Regions from separate parts of the Homo sapiens genome. Here regions 1, 2, 3, 4 and 6 are each linked to region 5. The links are contacts of gene promoters, found by promoter capture Hi-C in blood cells and fetal thymus (Javierre and others, 2016). All regions are on one chromosome and are shown on one strand. Each heading gives the region's core, a stretch centred on a gene start or on the middle of the fragment in contact. The rest is flanking DNA. Distances are from core to core; before and after follow the strand shown. Region 1 has its middle 8.7 kb from the start of FAM131B. Region 2 has its middle 5.1 kb from the start of OR6V1. Region 3 overlaps EPHA1 (EPH receptor A1). Region 4 overlaps EPHA1-AS1 (EPHA1 antisense RNA 1). Region 5 holds the start of TAS2R40 (taste 2 receptor member 40). Region 6 has its middle 21 kb from the start of KEL.

The links. The method cuts DNA at HindIII sites, captures the fragments that hold promoters and counts their contacts. A CHiCAGO score of 5 or more calls a contact.
Region 1: a contact is called between a fragment that was not itself captured here and the fragment with the promoter of TAS2R40 in region 5, in 1 of 17 cell types (neutrophils). The highest score is 7.2, in neutrophils.
Region 2: a contact is called between a fragment that was not itself captured here and the fragment with the promoter of TAS2R40 in region 5, in 3 of 17 cell types (M0 macrophages, M1 macrophages and M2 macrophages). The highest score is 7.3, in M0 macrophages.
Region 3: a contact is called between a fragment that was not itself captured here and the fragment with the promoter of TAS2R40 in region 5, in 1 of 17 cell types (neutrophils). The highest score is 5.0, in neutrophils.
Region 4: a contact is called between a fragment that was not itself captured here and the fragment with the promoter of TAS2R40 in region 5, in 9 of 17 cell types (M0 macrophages, neutrophils, total CD8 T cells and 6 more). The highest score is 8.1, in M0 macrophages.
Region 6: a contact is called between a fragment that was not itself captured here and the fragment with the promoter of TAS2R40 in region 5, in 6 of 17 cell types (naive B cells, M0 macrophages, M1 macrophages and 3 more). The highest score is 11.2, in naive B cells.

What each region holds. Positions count from the first base shown.
Region 1 is chr7:143,370,002-143,372,868 of GRCh38, forward strand. It overlaps a transcript of FAM131B not described here. Among named protein-coding and RNA genes, the nearest start is that of FAM131B, 8.7 kb to the left of the region's middle. The HindIII fragment of the contact is 7,431 bases long and covers 1-2,867 here.
Region 2 is chr7:143,045,674-143,048,709 of GRCh38, forward strand. It overlaps the pseudogene OR9P1P. Among named protein-coding and RNA genes, the nearest start is that of OR6V1, 5.1 kb to the right of the region's middle. RefSeq lists an enhancer at 2,863-3,036. The HindIII fragment of the contact is 4,018 bases long and covers 1-3,036 here.
Region 3 is chr7:143,392,986-143,396,136 of GRCh38, forward strand. It overlaps EPHA1 (EPH receptor A1), which reads right to left. Exons shown (of 18, transcript NM_005232.5): 12 at 2,334-2,519; 13 at 2,136-2,197; 14 at 1,823-2,029; 15 at 1,209-1,358; 16 at 686-879. Among named protein-coding and RNA genes, the nearest start is that of MIR6892, 12 kb to the left of the region's middle. RefSeq lists enhancers at 491-785, 2,523-3,151. The HindIII fragment of the contact is 2,192 bases long and covers 755-2,946 here.
Region 4 is chr7:143,413,830-143,416,922 of GRCh38, forward strand. It overlaps EPHA1-AS1 (EPHA1 antisense RNA 1), which reads left to right. Exons shown (of 5, transcript NR_033897.1): 2 at 1,239-1,370. Among named protein-coding and RNA genes, the nearest start is that of EPHA1, 6.5 kb to the left of the region's middle. The HindIII fragment of the contact is 153 bases long and covers 1,175-1,327 here.
Region 5 is chr7:143,220,779-143,223,668 of GRCh38, forward strand. TAS2R40 (taste 2 receptor member 40) reads left to right here and starts at 1,259. Exons shown (of 1, transcript NM_176882.2): 1 at 1,259-2,301. The coding sequence starts at 1,301. The coding sequence ends at 2,272. The HindIII fragment of the contact is 3,585 bases long and covers 1-1,762 here.
Region 6 is chr7:142,981,614-142,984,777 of GRCh38, forward strand. No RefSeq gene overlaps it. Among named protein-coding and RNA genes, the nearest start is that of KEL, 21 kb to the left of the region's middle. The HindIII fragment of the contact is 1,891 bases long and covers 875-2,765 here.

The sequences.
Region 1 (2,867 bases), core at 189-2,688, 150 kb after region 5:
GAACGCCAGGTGCTGGGTGTTTCTCTCTTTAACTTAAAGAAGAATTTCCTTTCCAACCTCTTTGTTCATGTATATGCATGAGGTGGCTAGTGGTAGTCAAGCCTGAATTTTATTACTGATGGTGGAAAACTGTGTTGGGGGCAGGGCCAAGGAATGCAAGCAATGTCTTCCTTCTAAGGTGGGAGCTGGAATTTGCCCCTTGATCTTTCTCTTCCTGGAGCTCTAGTTTCTCTCACAGCCAAAATTTTTGAAAGAGCTGCCGGCACTCATCTTCTCCATTTCCTTACTTCTCTGCACTCCTCAACTTACCCAATCTGGCATCTTCACTCTACTGAAGCAGCTCACACGGGGGGCTCCCCTGTCAGAGGCAATTGAACCAGAGCAACTCCATCTTGAATAGGAGCTGGGTAAAACAAGGCTAAGACCTGCTGGGCTGTGTTCCCAGACGGTTATGGCATTCTAAGTCACAGGATGAGATAAAAAGTTAGCACAAGACATAGGTCATAAAGATCTTGCTGATAAAACAGGTTGCAGTAAAGAAGCTGACTAAAACCCGCCAAAACCGAAATGGCGACGAGAGTAACCTCTGGTCTTCACTGCTACCCTCCCACCAGCGCCAACAAATGCCATGGCGACCTCAGGAAGTTACCTTATGGTCTAAAATGGGGAGGTATGAATAACCTACCCCTTGTTTAGCATATAATTTAAAAAAATACACACACATGAAAATGGGCAACCAGCAGCCCTCAGGGCTGCTCTGTGTGTGTAGTAGCCATTCTTTATTCCTTTATTTTCCTAATAAACTTGCTTTTACTTTCCTCTATGGACTCGCCCTGAGTTCCTTCTTGTGCGAGATCCAAGAACCCTCTCTTGGGGTCTGGATTGGGACTTCTTTCCAGTAACACCCTTAGCCTCCATGTTAACAGATTTTGTTCATTTCTAACCTTAAGTGGCACATCAGGGGCATTTCATACCCTCGTGAGGGACTCATGGTTACTCCCTCATTCCCAAACACTCTTTCTTGGTTCTCCTCTTGACTTTCCGGCTGCTCCTTCTTTGTCTTTTTTTGTTAGTTTTTTCCATTATTCATTCATTCATTCCATATTACAGGTATTTAAGGAGCACCTACCTACTCTATGTCAGTACCTCTCTAGGTTCTACGATCCAAAACTCCTGCTGTCACGGAGCTTATAGTCTAGTGAGAAGTGGTGGGGCAGAAACAGCAATACAACAATTAAGAGACTGAATTGTTTGGTGGGGGAGTGCCAAAACCCAGGATGGAATGATATATTTAAGGTGATAATTACTATGAAGAAAAATTAAGGAAGGGCCAGGCGTGGTGGCTCATGCCTGTAATCCCAGCACTTTGGGAGGCTGATGTGAGAGGATTGCTTGAGCTCAGGTGTTCAAGACCAGCCTGGGCAACATATGGAGACCTTGTCTTTACAAAAAGAAAAAGAAAATTAGCCAGGCCTGGTGGCACATGCCTGTGGTCCCAGCTACTTGAGAAGCTGAGATGAGAGGATTGCTTGGGCCTGGGAGGTAGAGGCTGCAGTGGGCCATGATTATGCCATTGCACTCCAGCCTGGGCAACACCGCAAGACCCTGTCTCAAAAAAAAAAAAAAAAAAAAAAAGAAAAGAAAAAAAGAAAGGAGAGGTGGATAATAATGAAAGGGCTGGTATATGTCATTCTAAACTGGATGGTCATGGGAGGCCTCACTGAGAGGTCAGCATGTGAGGAAGGCTATGATGGAGATAATGGGGTGATCCATACAGATGTCTGTGGAAGAACCTTCCCAGCAGAGAAACTAGCAAATGCAAGGCCCTGAGATGGGAATGTGCCTTACACATTGGAGGAACAGTAACAAGGCCATTGTGGCTGAGGCAAAATGATTGCTGGGAGATGAGGCCAGAGAGCATGTGGGATTAGTTTGATTTGATGTAGGTAGAGCCTAGGAAAGGTTTTTTTTCAATTTGTTTAATTTTCTCCTTGCAACAGGAAGCAAGGCATCAGCTATGCATGAGGATGTGGAAGGAGATGTGGAGAGAGAGGAGAAGGTCTAGAAGCCTTCTGAGAGAGTCAGAGTGGGAGAGTGGATGGAAAAACGAGACTGGTATGTTTATCAGGACGTAGAAAGGTCAGATGGCATCTGCAGCTCACAGCCATGGAGTTTACAATGAGATCTGTCAGAAGGGCTGTATGTTTTTCTGTAGTGCCACCCAGCTGTGTGGGTGCAGGCATGGAGTTGGTAGAATTGGACTCAGCCCAGGCTGGGGTTTTGCCAAGTGAGCACCACAGGGTGAGAAAGAGGCACAGGAAGTTGAGACAGATGTAAGGGAGTGACTGTAATGATTGTCCAGGAAATGTGAGCTGGTATGGACGTGAATGGCAAGTTCCAGTGGGCCAAGGGATTGTCGAAGCACAAAAAGAGAATGACTAGAAAAATAGAAGGAGCTGGTTGGAGAAAGTGTGGCTTAAAATTAGGATTGTACAGAGATGGCTCAGGGTCTATTTAGAACTTGCTATGCAATGTGGGAGCCACCAGCAATGTGTAACCTTTGAGCACCTGCAATGGGACTAGCGTGAATTGAGACATGCTGTAAGTGTAAAATACACACCAAATTCCCATGACTTAGTGCCAAAAAAGTAAAATACCTCATTAATAATTTTTAAGGCCTGGCACAGTGGCTCATGCCTGTAATCCCAGCACTTTGGGAGGCTGAGACAGGCGGATCATCTGAGATCAGTAGTTCGAGACCAGCCTCGCCGACATGGTGAAACCTCGTCTCTACTAAAAATACAAAAATTAACCAGGTGTCGTGGTGGGCACCTGTAATCCCACCTACTTGGGAGGCTGAGGCAGGA
Region 2 (3,036 bases), core at 160-2,659, 170 kb before region 5:
TCTTATTTGACAAGTAGATCAAATAAAGCCTATGATTTGTATTTGTTTTAGACATCTAAGCAAACTGTCTGGGATCAGTTGGGAGGATAAAGCAAGACATTTTGGCACAAGTACTGTGTATCATCTTTGTGCATAAAATGGGTGCCCCTTTCCATCAGGTAGATGCAGCTCCTTCAGCCCCCATGTGCCCCTTCAGTCTCTCCATCACCACCTTTGTACAGTCTACAAGCCACACAATTTTACTCAGGGGCCCTAATTCAGCTCCTATCTCCATCCACCACCAGGCAAGTGCCCTCTTGCTAGACTCTTCAATTCTCCAGGTGACCCACATCAATTCTCAAGAAAACTATTTTCTGTCTGATTCCAGCCTACAGGTATTATCATGTGAGATAATTTCTTCCTCCAATCTGTCTGAAAATCTAGCAGTTACATATTTCTGTGCATTAATAGGGAGCTACCCCATCCCCTGATTTGTTAGTAAGTCAGAATTGAGGGAGGAAACTCCCACTCTCAACTCTGCCAGCAGTGAAAATCTGCAGAGATGTCATAGAAGACAGCTGGAGATTGGGGCAGAAAAGCCCCCAGTCAGAGGATATCTGGCTTTGGGAGGCAGAGCACATCATGAAAACAAAGGATTCCTGTAGCATATAAAGAAAAAATTCAGGCATCTAGAGTGAGCCATTCAATCCTTCCTTACCTCCTTCCTTTACCATGAACAAAACGAGATGAGTTAAATAGTTGCCAAAAATTTGATCATAAATTTTCTTCTGTCCCTACCACCAAACATGTTCAAACATTCCATCCACCCCTTTCTAAACATATTGTCCTCGTGCCACTCCAAGTTGGCTTTATGCCAAAATGTAGAGAAAAAGAGTTGCTTTGTAGTAGCAATGGGCCAAGATTAGATATGGCACATCCAAGAAAAAGAGTACACCAGGGAGTAATCTGTGTCTCACCTAATGGCCAGGCACAGCTTTATGAGATTGAGTCTAATAATGCAAGTCAAAATGTCAACATATCCCAGGAAACAGTAGGGCAGATCTGAGCAGAGGTGCTGACATTTTTATTGTAGTCCCTGGACTCTCTTCCTCTTCTGGAAATGCACATTCAGAGATGATTACAGTGCAATCTAACGCCCCCAGGAACATATACAGCTCCTTTCTCAAGCTCTTCCCCGACTTCAGGCATTTTCTTCTTCAGATTTTCAAAAACAAAACAATAATTTTATTACAAAACAACTGAAACAAGAAGTAGCTCAGATTATCAGTTACTGATAAGCAGGTTGGTTTTTATGTTTGTGTATTTTGCCCACTTCCAAGGGCCTGAGTGTGATAATTACATATGGTTTGATGATGAAAATAAAGATGCTTTAGCTTAGATATTTGTTAGTATTTTCCAGATTACCTTAGAATCCATGAGGACTGGCCCACCTAAAACTGATTTAGGTCAGTAAATCTGACCTGTAAGAAGGTTCAGAAAGGGGGTCAACAGGAAAATAAACAGGAAAACTACCTTGTTTTATTCTGCTGCCCAAATTTGCTTGGGTTTCACGTAGAGAAACAAGCAGCTGTCATAGTCAATCACCACACAGGTGAAATGGGAGGCATGAGTGGAGAAGGATTATTTTTTGGCCAGAGGCTGAGGGGATACTGGAGTAGGAATCAATCTGGATCAAAGAAGCAATAACAATGGAAATGTCCATTAATAGACTGTGTGAAAAGATGAAGAGTTGACTGAGGAAGAAATCCCCGGGAGACTGAAGACTTCATCAATTCAACCATGTAAATGACTGCATTTCCCATTAATCTCATCAAGTGAAAGAAGAAGTTAACCAAAAGGAAATGGGGCAGTTCCTCAAAGCCTGGGAAGCCCAGGAGACAGAATTGAGTGGCACTAGAGTAGTTCCCCTCGCTGTTTCAATCCTAGCTCTTTCTCTCTGGGAAGGCTAGAAAGGAAACAAGAATTAACATTGCTCCACATGCCTTTAATCCCAAAGGAAATAAGGACAGATTTAGGATTATGCTCCTGGATTATGGAGCCTGCTCTATGTTATGATCATTTAACCGAGTTGACGCTACATATTTATTAAGGAATGAACACAATTGTGTAAAGATGAATGGATCTGGTCAAATAAGTGGTTCACCAGGCACCAAAGCTGCATGGTAGTCATTGCGATAGGCAGAGGAATGCCCCCTCAACGATGTCCAAGCCCTAATCCTTGGAATTTGTGAAATGTTGCTTTACATAGGAAAGGGGACTTTGCAGGTGTGATTGGGTTGAAGACCTTGAGATGAGGGGATTAGCCTGGGCGATCCAGGTGGGCTGAATCTAATCTTAGGGGTGATCCAGATGGGCTGAATCTAATCTTAGGGATTTGTAAAAGTGGAGAAACTTCTCCTCTGAGTTCAGTCAGAGGGCTAAGTGATGACAGAAGACGGTTCTGAGAGACACATGTGACTGGCTTTGAAGATGGACGAGGGAACAATAAGCCAAGGAATGTGGGCAGCTTCTAGAAGGTGGAAAAGCAAGGAGACTCCAGAAAGGAAGGCAGCCCTGATGACGCCTTGATTTTAGCTCATTGAGGCCTGGTCAAGTTACTGACCTGGAGAATTTGTCAGGTAATAAATTTGTGTTGTTTAAGCTACAAAATTTGTGGTAATTGGCTACAGAAGCAATAGAAAATGAATAGTCATGAAGGCCCATGTAGCCCCGACCTATGCTCCTGCCTTTCAATTCCCAAGCCCCTGCCTCCAGCCCTGCTCTGCCCAGGACCTGTCTTCCTACCTGAGCTCCCTGCTAGCAACTGGCTCCTTTCTTCTTCCTCCTCCATTTCTAGCCTTGTGACCTACATTTTTCTTTACTTTCTTTCTTTTTGTTTTTGTTTTTGTTTTGAGACGAAGTCTTGCTTTGCCACCCAGGCCGGAGTGCAGTGGCACGATATTGGCTCACTGCAACCTCTGCCTCATGGGCTCAAGCAATTCTCCTGCCTCAGCCTCCTGGGTAAATGGGATTACAGGCTAATTTTTTGTATTTTTA
Region 3 (3,151 bases), core at 601-3,100, 170 kb after region 5:
AAACTTCTCAACAGGGCTGGTCCTCTTTGTGTTGACTGGTTGTCTCTCCAGCCTCATGGCTGCTATTCCTAAACACAATGCCGCAGCCATCCTGCACTATCTGCAACCTACCAGCCCTCAGCTCCCCACAGACTAGCCATGTGATCCAGAAGCCTTCCCAAACCCTGCAAGGCTGCTGCTACCTACCCCACCCCAGCCTGGCTGCCCAAGCTCCCTGGAGCTTGGGTAATAAGTGCAGCTGTATCTCCAATGTCCAGCAAACAGCTTGCACCAGTAGGTCCTCCAAAACTTCATGAATGGATGACCCTTTCCTTCACATGCAGAAATATTTCTATGGGGAAGGGGATGCATCCCAAGAATGGGCCACAGTACAACACAGTGGGATTGGCAAGGATGGCTCCGGGAGTGTCTTAGGTGAGGCTGCCTGAGAAGAGAAAAGATGGGCCCCCCACCCCCAAGCCCAGGTGAAGTGAGGGAACTGGGGCCCAGCCATAACTGATTTTCTGCAAATATGCATAATCTAAAGCTGACCTCTTGGACTCTCCCCAAGGGCACGTCTTGCCTCATACACTGGACTTGGTCCAGAGCTCCCCAGGCCCAGCGCTCAAAGAAGATTGGCTGAATGCCCATTTCCACTCTCCTAGCGCTGCCTCTGGGTTCCCTAGTCCTTCCCCTGCATGGTTACCTGGGGTCAAAGTTGGCAATGGTCCGCAGGGAGTGGGGGTTGGCAAGCAGTTGCTCCAGATGTGCCTGAAGCTTCTGGAAGTGTGGCCGGCGGGCACGGTCATATGCCCAGCAGTTCTTCATGAGCTCATACAGAGGGGCAGGGCAGTCCACAGGAGGGGGCAACCGGTACCCATCCTCAATGCTCTTCATAACCTGCACGGCGGGACAGGAGGATGCTCTAGAGTAGCAAGCTAACCTGGAGGCCCATGAGAAACCGACGGTCACACAAGATAATTGCAGTGGAGATCCTAGGATGGGAGGAGGTGGGAGGACCAGGGTGGGACGATCACAGTGGGAGGATCAGGGTGGGAGGAGTAAAGAGAGCAGGGCATGAGGTGAAGAACCAGAGGAGCCAGGAGTACAGAAAAACTGAAGGTCATGAATAAATAAAGATATTTGCAGGAAAAGGCCATGGGAGGACCTTGGGAGGAAATAAGAGGTGTGAATTGGAGACAAGATGAGGAAGAATATTCTGGGCTCACCTCCTGATTGCTCATCTCCCCATAAGGCTTGTCCCCAAAGCTCAGCACCTCCCACATCACAATCCCAAAGCTCCACACATCGCTGGCTGTGGTGAAGATCCGATGGGCAATGGCTTCAGGGGCTGTCCAACGGATAGGGATCTTTCCTCCCTAAGAAGGCACATGGGTCAGGGACGGAAAGTTATGGTGTCCACCTGAGCACGAGTCTTTCTGCTTCTTTTATTGTATTTTTATTTTATTTTTTTTGAGACAAAGTCTCGCTCTGTTGCTAGGCTGCAGTGCAGTGGCGCAATCTCGGCTCACTGCAACCTCCACCTCCCAGGTTCAAGCGATTCTCCTGCCTCAGCCTCCTGAGTAGCTGGGACTACAGGCGCCTGCCACCATGCCCAGCTAATTTTTTGTATTTTTAGTAGAGACGGGGTTTCACCATGTTCGCCAGGCTGGTCTCGATCTCCTGACCTTGTGATCCACCTGCCTCGGCCTCCCAAAGTGCTGGGATTACAGGTGTGAGCCACCGTGCCTGGCCAAGTCTTTGTGCCTATATACATGTGACTGTATGAATGGCATGTTACGGGGCAATGTGAATGTGCACTGGGTTTGTACCGGCCTCTAACCTGGGTTTCGTATGTGCCATCAAAGTCATCCAGGAGGCGAGTCAGGCCAAAGTCAGACACCTTGCAGCACAGGTTTTGATTCACCAAGATGTTTCTGGCAGCCAGGTCCCGGTGGACATAATTGTGATTACTGAGGTAGTTCATGCCAGATGCTATGCCCTGCAGCATGGCCACTAGCTGCCCAGGGACCAGCTGGTCCTCCCGCTCCTGCAGCAGGGTGAGTGGGTGAGTCAGGGGATGGGCCAGGTCTCCTCCCAGTGCCCAGGGTACCATGGTGCATCCCCCTCCCCAGCTAGTCCTCTGCCCTCCTCACCCTCAGGAAGGCATCCAGGGCTCCATTCTCCATAAATTCTGTGATGATCATGATCGGCTTTCCTGAGACACAGACACACATATCACACTCAGAACCGGGCTTCCTGCCCTTGGCCACACATCCTCCCTCCACTTCCAGTGGTTTCACCCCTCTTTCCTGCATTTCCCGCCCCCAGCTGAGGGAGACCACTCATCGTACGCTTTGTGACGACGCCTTCCAGATGCAGAATATGCGGGTGGCTAAACTGGCCCATGATAGTTGCCTCTCGAAGGAAGTTCCACCACTGGCCACCTGGGGATGTGTCTTTTAAGGTCTTAATGGCCACAGTCTTGCAGTCCTGGCTGGGGAGCCTCAGGGTCCCTCGATACACTTCCCCAAACTCTCCTGGGTAGAAAGAAAACAGGCTGTGGCCCGATGCACTGCAGGGCTCCTCCAGGGGACAGGCAGCAACCCCTCCAGTCCTCCGGCCCTTTTCTTTTCTGGAGAATCAGAAGCGTGGAGTGCCCTTCCTGGGACAGGGCGTGGGCTGTCCTTCCTGGGGAAGGTCAGAGTCTGGAGCTGGAGTGCAATGCCGTGACCTATTCACCACTGTCTCCCAGTGTTTGCACAGTTCTTGGCTCACAATAGGCGCTCGGCAACTGCAGGGTGAATGAACCCTGTGGAGCGGGACTGGGCCGTGCTCATGAAGAGCAAGCTAGTGCGGCACTAGTACCCAAGTGGCAGGGACGCTGGCTATGGCCGCCTCTCTTCTGTGAGCTCCTCTGGTCCCAGCTTGCCTGGCTCAGCTGCACAATTGGCAAGGACACCACCAAGCTTTGTTCTCCACTGAGATCCATTTCCTCTGGTGACCCAAGGGAACAGGGCAGCCCAAGGACACTGGGCCTCTGATGGGGTGGAATGCCAGGCTAGGGAGGGAATGAGTCCTACATTTGGGCATCATCACAGAACATCTGGACCCTCAGCACAGCAGCACCTCTGTGGATGAAAACAGTGTATTTAATGCCCTTTATCAGAAA
Region 4 (3,093 bases), core at 1-2,500, 190 kb after region 5:
GGTTAAACAGGTTTAGGTTCTACCTTTGAATTGCTACATTGAGCGACTTTCATGGTTTATCCGGCTTATCTGTGTCTCTGAGAGGTTTAATCTTTCCAAACAAAACGTACTTCCTTTTTTTTTTTTTTTTTTTTTTTTTTTTTTTTTTTTTCAGGTGGAGTCTCGCTCTGTCGCCCAGGCTGGAGTGCACTGGCGCAATCTCGGCTCACTGCAAGCTCCGCCTCCCGGGTTACGTCATTCTCCTGCCTCAGCCTCCCGAATAGCTGGGACTACAGGCGCCCACCACCACGCCCGGCTAATTTTTTGTATTTTTAGTAGAGACGGGGTTTCACCGTGTTAGCCAGGATGGTCTCCATCTCCTGACCTCGTGATCTGCCCGCCTCGGCCTCCCAAAGTGCTGGGATTACAGGCATGAGCCACTGCGCCCGGCCGTACTTCCTTTTTTAAACTAGACTTTTGCTAACCCAAATGATTCTTTTTTTTTCTTTTTTGAGATGGAGTCTCACTCTGTTGCCCAGGCTGAAGTGCAGTGGAATGATCTCGGCTCACTGCAACCTCTGCCTCCCAGGTTCAAGCGATTCTCCTGCTTCAGCCTCCTGAGTAGCTGGGATTACAGGTACCTGCCACCATGCCCGGCTAATTTTTGTATTTTTAGTAGAGACGGGGTTTCACCATGTTGGCCAGGCTGGTCTCAAACTCCTGATCTCAAGTAATCTGCCCGTCTTGGCCTCCCAAAGTGCTGAAATTACAGGAGTGAGCCATGACACCCAGCCTCCTAACAACTTTTTAATTGATTAAAAGTATGCAGAGGCGGTCTGTAAGCAGTGCCACAGGTCCCAATTATACACCCTCCCCCTTAAACCCTGCATGTCCTCCCTTCTTCCAGTCAGTTTGCTAAGAGGAAGACACCCGATACTGTTTAGGAATCTGTCTTCTTGCTAGAAATAGAACTGTTTTGAGATAGAGGCGGTTGGAAGTTTTCTCTGAAGTGTCAAAAGCAAAGTTATATTTTAGAAGATTTTAATATTGTCACTTCATAGCCAAGTGATCTTGGGCAAATCACCTAGCTGTTTTGAGACTCCGCTTCCTCATCTGCAAAATGGGGGAAATGATGATAATGTTGTTGGTCATAGTATATGAGAAAAGTACAAATATGAGAAAGTGTACAAGCAAAAGCTTCTGGTGGCACCATGCAATTTAAGGATACATGTTTTTTATTTTTGTGTCCTCCTGTACAGGTTTATTTGCAAGATGGGTTTGAGGGAATTAAGGATAAAGTCTGCTGAAAGTAGCACCAGCCTCTGGATTAAAAGGGATGTTTGGATGAAGCTTCAATCTCAAGAAGAGGCAAGAGAAAACTAAAGAAAAAGGTAAGAGAGCCGGGTGTGGTGGCGGGCGCCTATAATCCCAGCTACTCAGGAGGCTGAGGCAGGAGAATTGCTTGAACCCAGGAGGCGGAGGTTGCAGTGAGCTGAGATTGTGCCACTGCACTCCAGCCTGGGCAACGAGCAAAACTCCATCTCAAAAAAAAAAAAAAAAGATGCTAAGAGAGATCACTTTCGACCCATTTACATTATGATGCAATATGAAAATAAAATAAATACCACTCTAACATTTTCAGGACATATGGCAATTCTCCCTGTGCTGATTTTTTTTAAATGTATCTCTGCAGTATTAACATCCTCTAAATCATTCTCTTTGTTTTAGAGACAAGAAGGTAGTTGACAAGCTGTGAACCTGCATTGCATTCTAGTGATGGGACACGTGGAAGGGGAAGCTGAAGTTGAAGGGTGGATGGTAGCAGCCACAGGGAGTGAGATGGGCTCGTTTCTGGAGCTGTTGGGAGAGAAAAAGGGAGTCAAACGGGAATTCACACAGGGTTGTGCATTATATCCAAGTGTGTATTCAGATACAAGCCTTTATCTCAATACCTTCCTTACCCCCATTCCGCACATATCTCATACCAAAGTACAAATAAAACCATTCCCAATTGTTCTAATATTTCATTTGATTTCTTGAGTCATGAAATGAAAATGTGGAGGGGTTAGTCATGTGAAGTGGCTGTGACTCAAATATCTTACGATGATATTTGTGCGCGTCTCATGAGAAATCATTGTGTTTCCACCTGAACTTGTTTGCTTGACTGCCTGAGAAGATAGTGTTGCTAACCTGAGAAGTTAATACGCTGCCTTAATGCTTGGGCTGGTAGAAGTGAGGGAGGGAAAGGAAGAGAACAAATGTGTCTCAGTGAACTGGGGCATGACAGAAATTTAATAAGAACAGGTTGAGACAAGTGTTAAATACTGGAATCCCCCGGGAGCACAGCGATAGCTTGGTCCTTGTCAAAAAGTGTACTGGTTGGAGCTCAGGAGGGAAAGAGAAAGTGATAAATCAGCCATGTCTTGAAGTCCATTTTAATTTAGCTAGCCTGCGAGAAGAGAGGGCTGAAATAAACTATCAGCTCTGTCTTCTGCATTAAGCAAGCATAATTTATTTGAAAAACATTCAGTTTTATTTCTAGCTAGGCTAGGAGTTCTTGTAACTTCTACAGAGGGTTGGGAAGAAGATCGGCATAACCCATGCTTACTATTTGAAGTTACTGGTTCTGTTGTCAGGAGGTAATATTATATTGTTGTCTTGTAAAAGAAGTATTTGATAAGTATGGGACCTCTTAATTGGGCACAGATTGGATTTCTTTTACATTTTGCTTTGAAGAAGTTATTTATAAAGGGATCGTAATAGGGTAATTTATATCTTTTTCTAACAAGTTCTAGTTTGAAAGTATTATAAATCTACTTACCCAGACACAGACACATTTGAACATATAGATAACAACCACCTCTGTTAAGAAATTAATGTACACATTTCCAAATCTATCCCTGAGTTTAGGCGATCCAGGCCATGGGTCATAAACTATGAGAGCCACCTAGTGGGAAAATTTGGTAATTGCACCTATATCTTCAAATTCTGGGTGTGAGAGCCACAGATAATTTCTGTTTATAAAATCTTAGAATACCATGGGAATATTTATCAACATGATATGAAAGTGACAGCGATTTTTATATATTCCTACTATTATAAAGATGGTAGGCC
Region 5 (2,890 bases), core at 9-2,508:
GCTTCTGTGTCAAGAAGACACTAGGAATTAGTATTGTCAACAAACTGAAAAGTATATACCTTGTTTAAAATGGGCAGCCATTACTCAGCTTCAGCCAGTTCACTATGAAGACCCAATACTGCCAAATCTTCTAATTTTTCAAGAGAAGATAGATTTTTTGTGCATGCATATAAGTAATCTCCTAAGTTTAAATGTTTGCCAATAGAACCCCTCAAAAAGAAAAGTTACACACTGGTGGATTAATGCTGTACAGCATTAACCAATGCAAGGTAAAATGACTACAGGCCAAATCTGACCCAAGGCTCATTGGTTTCCAGCTAAGATTTTGGATCTCAATCCTGACTATGAGCAACAAGACCTTTCGGCTTTTTTAAAAGATAGCATGCCTGAGCCCTAGTCCAGTTCTGATTTCCTAGATTTGGACGAGTCCTGGGCATCTACATATTCTTGTAAAGTGCCAGAGTTCATTCTGGTTCACAGCCAGGGTTAAAAAGTAGGAAATTAAATTTCAAGTCATAGTACCTTATCACATTTCCAAACTTCAACACCATGTCCAGAACACTGAATTCTCCCCAGGCTCATTCTACCTGATTCTGAGCTCAAATAGTCATGTGGGATCTCAGTAAGCTGAAATTGATGACACATACACAAACAATAAAAACTGGGACTATGGAGACTTCCTTCTCTCCAACTCGAATAGCATCCAATTTTGGCTTTTCTATATACTATTCGAGGACATTATAATAGCAGGCCTTTTTGGAAGAAACTCAATTCTAAGTAAAAGATGTTCATATATGAGCTTATGGGAATTTCTTATTCACAAACATGGTAACTATCAAAATAAAACTCTCTCCCAAAATAAGAGAGACAAGAAAAGAAGTGGGGAAAACAGATTTTAAAAGCTGTATGAGCTTTTACAAATAATTTAGCAGGTAACAGAGATCTTGTGAGACAAGTAAAAAGGCCTTGTATTCATTGCTTATCAGGTAAATGTGGACTTAAAGTAAATAAGGTAAGAAGGTGTTGAGCTAGAAACATGTCTCAAATTATTTCCAGTGAGCTTCTGAAAGCCCAAGACAAATGTATCTTTATGAAAAATTGAGACAGACCCAGTAACCAGATCCTCTCATTATTTGCATGTGAAGCCTCTAACTTGTAGTCATGTGATAAACAAATGGAGAAAAATTGGAAATAACCATTAATGAGGGCGGCAGAAATTATAACATTGAGCAAGGGTCAGAAGATTGCAGAGCAGTTACCCATTCTTGGCGCAGAAACCTGAAAGTCAGGATCAAAGAGAATGGCAACGGTGAACACAGATGCCACAGATAAAGACATATCCAAGTTCAAGGTCACCTTCACTTTGGTGGTCTCCGGAATAGAGTGCATCACTGGCATCCTTGGGAGTGGCTTCATCACGGCCATCTATGGGGCTGAGTGGGCCAGGGGCAAAACACTCCCCACTGGTGACCGCATTATGTTGATGCTGAGCTTTTCCAGGCTCTTGCTACAGATTTGGATGATGCTGGAGAACATTTTCAGTCTGCTATTCCGAATTGTTTATAACCAAAACTCAGTGTATATCCTCTTCAAAGTCATCACTGTCTTTCTGAACCATTCCAATCTCTGGTTTGCTGCCTGGCTCAAAGTCTTCTATTGTCTTAGAATTGCAAACTTCAATCATCCTTTGTTCTTCCTGATGAAGAGGAAAATCATAGTGCTGATGCCTTGGCTTCTCAGGCTGTCAGTGTTGGTTTCCTTAAGCTTCAGCTTTCCTCTCTCGAGAGATGTCTTCAATGTGTATGTGAATAGCTCCATTCCTATCCCCTCCTCCAACTCCACGGAGAAGAAGTACTTCTCTGAGACCAATATGGTCAACCTGGTATTTTTCTATAACATGGGGATCTTCGTTCCTCTGATCATGTTCATCCTGGCAGCCACCCTGCTGATCCTCTCTCTCAAGAGACACACCCTACACATGGGAAGCAATGCCACAGGGTCCAGGGACCCCAGCATGAAGGCTCACATAGGGGCCATCAAAGCCACCAGCTACTTTCTCATCCTCTACATTTTCAATGCAATTGCTCTATTTCTTTCCACGTCCAACATCTTTGACACTTACAGTTCCTGGAATATTTTGTGCAAGATCATCATGGCTGCCTACCCTGCCGGCCACTCAGTACAACTGATCTTGGGCAACCCTGGGCTGAGAAGAGCCTGGAAGCGGTTTCAGCACCAAGTTCCTCTTTACCTAAAAGGGCAGACTCTGTGACTGGAACTCACGGAGTTCTGCGGGACCTGGTCCAACCACTTCTGCCTTTGCCTCAGGTAGAACTCTCTCCTCACCCGTCTCTTCTCTCCCAAACCTGCTCTGACACTTCTCAGATAACGTGATCCTTTTATAAATATGAAGCTGAATTTTTAACTTGAGATTCTAAACAGAAGTAACTAAGAAACCTGAAGATGGACTTTGAAAGCTCCTTGAACTATGTTCATTCATATCCTGCCCTGAGATCTCTCCACTTTCTTCTCCTCCTGAGCCTTAAGGAGAGGGTGGCCAGACATATCGGTTTGCCAGGGACAATCTCTGTTTATTGTCTGTTGTCAATTGAGCATCCTTTAATTCTCAAGAATATCATGGTCTGGATGAAGAATTACATGATCATCCTACTTAAGACACCCAACTAACACACAGTTAGGGCTGGTGAAGCAGAGCACAGCACTCAGTCCACGGGGTAGAAGGGAAACCAGAGTGGCTACAGAAAAAGAAGATTCAGGAAAGAAAGGCTGCTGGAAATTATCAAGTGCTGCAGAGTTCCGAGGAAAGTAAAGGGTGAAGAAAAAGGCTCTGGATTTGACTAAAAGGATGCCATGTGTGCCATTAGTGGAG
Region 6 (3,164 bases), core at 570-3,069, 240 kb before region 5:
TTTGTATTTGCTGAGGAGTGTTTTACTTCCAATTATGTGATCAATTTTATAGTATGTGCCATGTGATGATGAGAAGAATATATATCCTGTTGCTTTTGGATGGAGAGTTCTGTAGATACCTATCAGGTCCATTTGATCCAGTGCTGCGTTCAGGTCCTAAATATCTTTGTCAATTTTCTGTCTCTATGAGCTGTCTGATATTGTCAATATGTTAGACAACAGGGTGTTAAAATCTCCCTCTACTATTGTGTGAGTCTAAGTCTCTCTTTGTAGGTCTCTAAGAACTCGCTTTATGAATCTGGATGCTCCTGTATTGGGTGCGTATATGTTTAAGAAAGATAGCTTTTCCTGTTGACTTGAACCCTTTACCATTATATAATGTCCTTCTTTGTCTTTTTTTGTTTTTGTTGGTTTAAAGTCTGTTTTGTCAGAAACAAGGATTGCAATCCCTGTTTTTTTCTGTTTTCCATTGTCTTGGTAGACTTTTCTCCATCCCTTTATTTTGAGCCTATGTATGTCATTGCATGTAAAATGGGTCTCTTGAAGACAGCATACCAATGGGTCATAGTTCTTTTATCCAGCTTCCAGTCTTTTAATTAGGGTATTTAGCCCATTTACTTTTAAGGTTAATGTTGATATGTATGAATTTGATCCTTCCATCATGATGTTAGTTGATTATTTTGCTGACTTGTTTATGTGGTTGCTTTATAGTGTCACTGGTCTGTGTACTTCATTGTGTTTTGTAGGGGCTGGCAACAGTCTTTCCTTTCCATATTTAGTGCTTCCTTCAGGAGCTCTTGTAAGTCACATCTGTTGGTAACAAATTCCCTCAGCATTTGCTTGTCTGGAAAGGATCTTATTTCTCTGCTTATGAAGCTTAGTTTAGCCAGATATGACATTCTGGTTTGGAATTTCTTGCCCCCAATCTCCTCTGGCTTGTAAAGTTTCTGCTGAGAGGTTCACTGTTTTGTTTTGTTTTGTTTTTGAGATGGAGTCTTGCTCTGTTGCCCAGGCTGGAGTGCAGTGGTGCAATCTCGGCTCACTGCAGCCTCTGCCCCCCCAGGTTCCAGTGATTCTCCTGCCTCAGCCTCTTGGGTAGCTAGGATTACAGGTGCACACCACCATGCCCAGCTAAATTTTATATTTTTAGTAGAGATGGGGTTTTGCCATGTTGGCCAGGCTGCTCTTGAACTCCGGACCTCAGGTAATCCACCTGCCTTGGCCTCCCAAAGTGCTGGGATTACAGGCATGAGCCACCGCACCCAGCCAAGAGGTCCACTGTTAGTCTGATGGGATTCACTTTGTAGGTGACCTGACCTTTCTCTATAGCTGCCTTTAACATTTTGACCTTGGAGAATCTGATGATTACACGTCTTGGGGATGTTCTTCTTGAGTAGCATCTTACTGGAGTTTTCTGCATTTCCTGAATTTGAATGTTGGCCTCTCTAGCTAGGTTGGAGAAGTTCTCAAGGATTATATCCTGAAATACATTGTCTAAGTTGGTTCCATTCTCCCCAGTGTCTTTCAGGGACAATGATGAGTTACTCAATCTCTTTACGTAATCTTATATTTCTCAGAGGTTTTGTTCATTCCTTTTCATTCTTTTTTCTCCATTTTTGTCTGACTATCTTATTTCAGAAAGCCAGTCTTCAAGTTCTGAGATTCTTTCTTCCACATGGTCTATTCTTCTACTAATACTTGTGATTACATTATGAAATTCTCATAGTGTGTTTTTCAGCTCTATCAGCTTAGTTATATTCTTTTCTATACTGGCTATTTTGTCTGTCAGCTCCTGCATTGTTTTATCATGGTTTTCAGCTTCCTTGAATTGGGTTTCAACATATTCTTGTATCTCAATGATCTTCATTTCTATCCATATTCTGAATTCTATTTCTGTCATTTCATCCATGGCAGCCCAGTTCAGAATGCTTGCTGGAGAGGTGATGTGGTCATTTGGAGGAAAGAAGGGACTGCAGTTTTTCTTTTATTTTTATTCAAGTTTTGAGTGTTCTTCCATCAGGTTTTTTTTCTCATCTTTGTGGGCTTATCTACCTTCAATCTTTGAGGTTGTTGACCTTTGGATTTTTTTTTTTTTAAAACCTATTTGATGACCTTGAGGGTCTGATTGTGGTATAAGGTGGGTTCAGTGAACTAGCTTCATTTCTGAAGGATTTTAGGAAGCCAATGCTTAGCTCCAACTCCTATACTGTGTTCTCTAACTGGAGGACTTGCATTAGGCCCCAGTTTTGTTCTCTGGCTCTTTGAGGCATGGCATGCAGTGTGCTGGTGGTGGGGGTAGTGCAGTGAGGTGCAGCAGCTGTGGCAGAGTGCTAGTGGGTGCCAAGTGCCTGCCTCCTTGCAGTTGTTCACCACAGTGACAGAGGCAATGCAGCTGGGGTGGGGGACAGTGGGGTGAGGCACCCTGCTGGACACTGTGTATAGTTGCACTGGAGGTAGTGTTGGGTCTGGTGTGGGGTGTTGGCTGGTGCAGGGTGCCTTCTCTATGCCCCACAAGCAGGAGTGATTGTTCAGGGTGGAGGAGGATGTGCTGTTCTCTGCACAGTGTTAGTTCGGGGCCAGGCACTGGCAGGGGTGGGGCTTCTGACTCTGTGCCCACCAAGGTTCCATCTGCAATGGCAGCCTGCAAAGGGAAGTAGAGCAGACTGCTCTCCCCTCCACTGACAGGGCAAAGAAAACAAACCCCTTCCACTCATGTTGGCATGTGCCAGCAAAGTGATGTGGGGAGTTGCTATGTGCCTGGAGGAAGCTTCAGTATGGGAGGGAATGGTAGGCTTGTGTGTGGCCATGGAGCCACCCAGCTGGAGCTGTCCACTGATGAGGCACAGTCCACCAGCACAGAAGCTATTGTGGTGGGCCCCCAGGGCACTGGAGATTGCCCTGCAAGAAGGTGTGGCCTGGCTAGGGCCCTAGGAGAGGCCAGTAGACCAAGGGGTGTTCAGGTTGGACCAGCCTGGTCTGATGGGCAAGACCATCCTGAAAGATCAGGTCCGACAGTTCCCCTAGGGTTAAAGTCTCCTATGGGAGCAAGTCAGGCCTGGGGGATGGCCATCCCTGGAGGTGCACCACTGCAGACACTCCCACATCAAACCCTCAGGCTCCACATCAGCTGGCTTGCTGCCTGTACCGCTTCTCTAAGTAGTGCT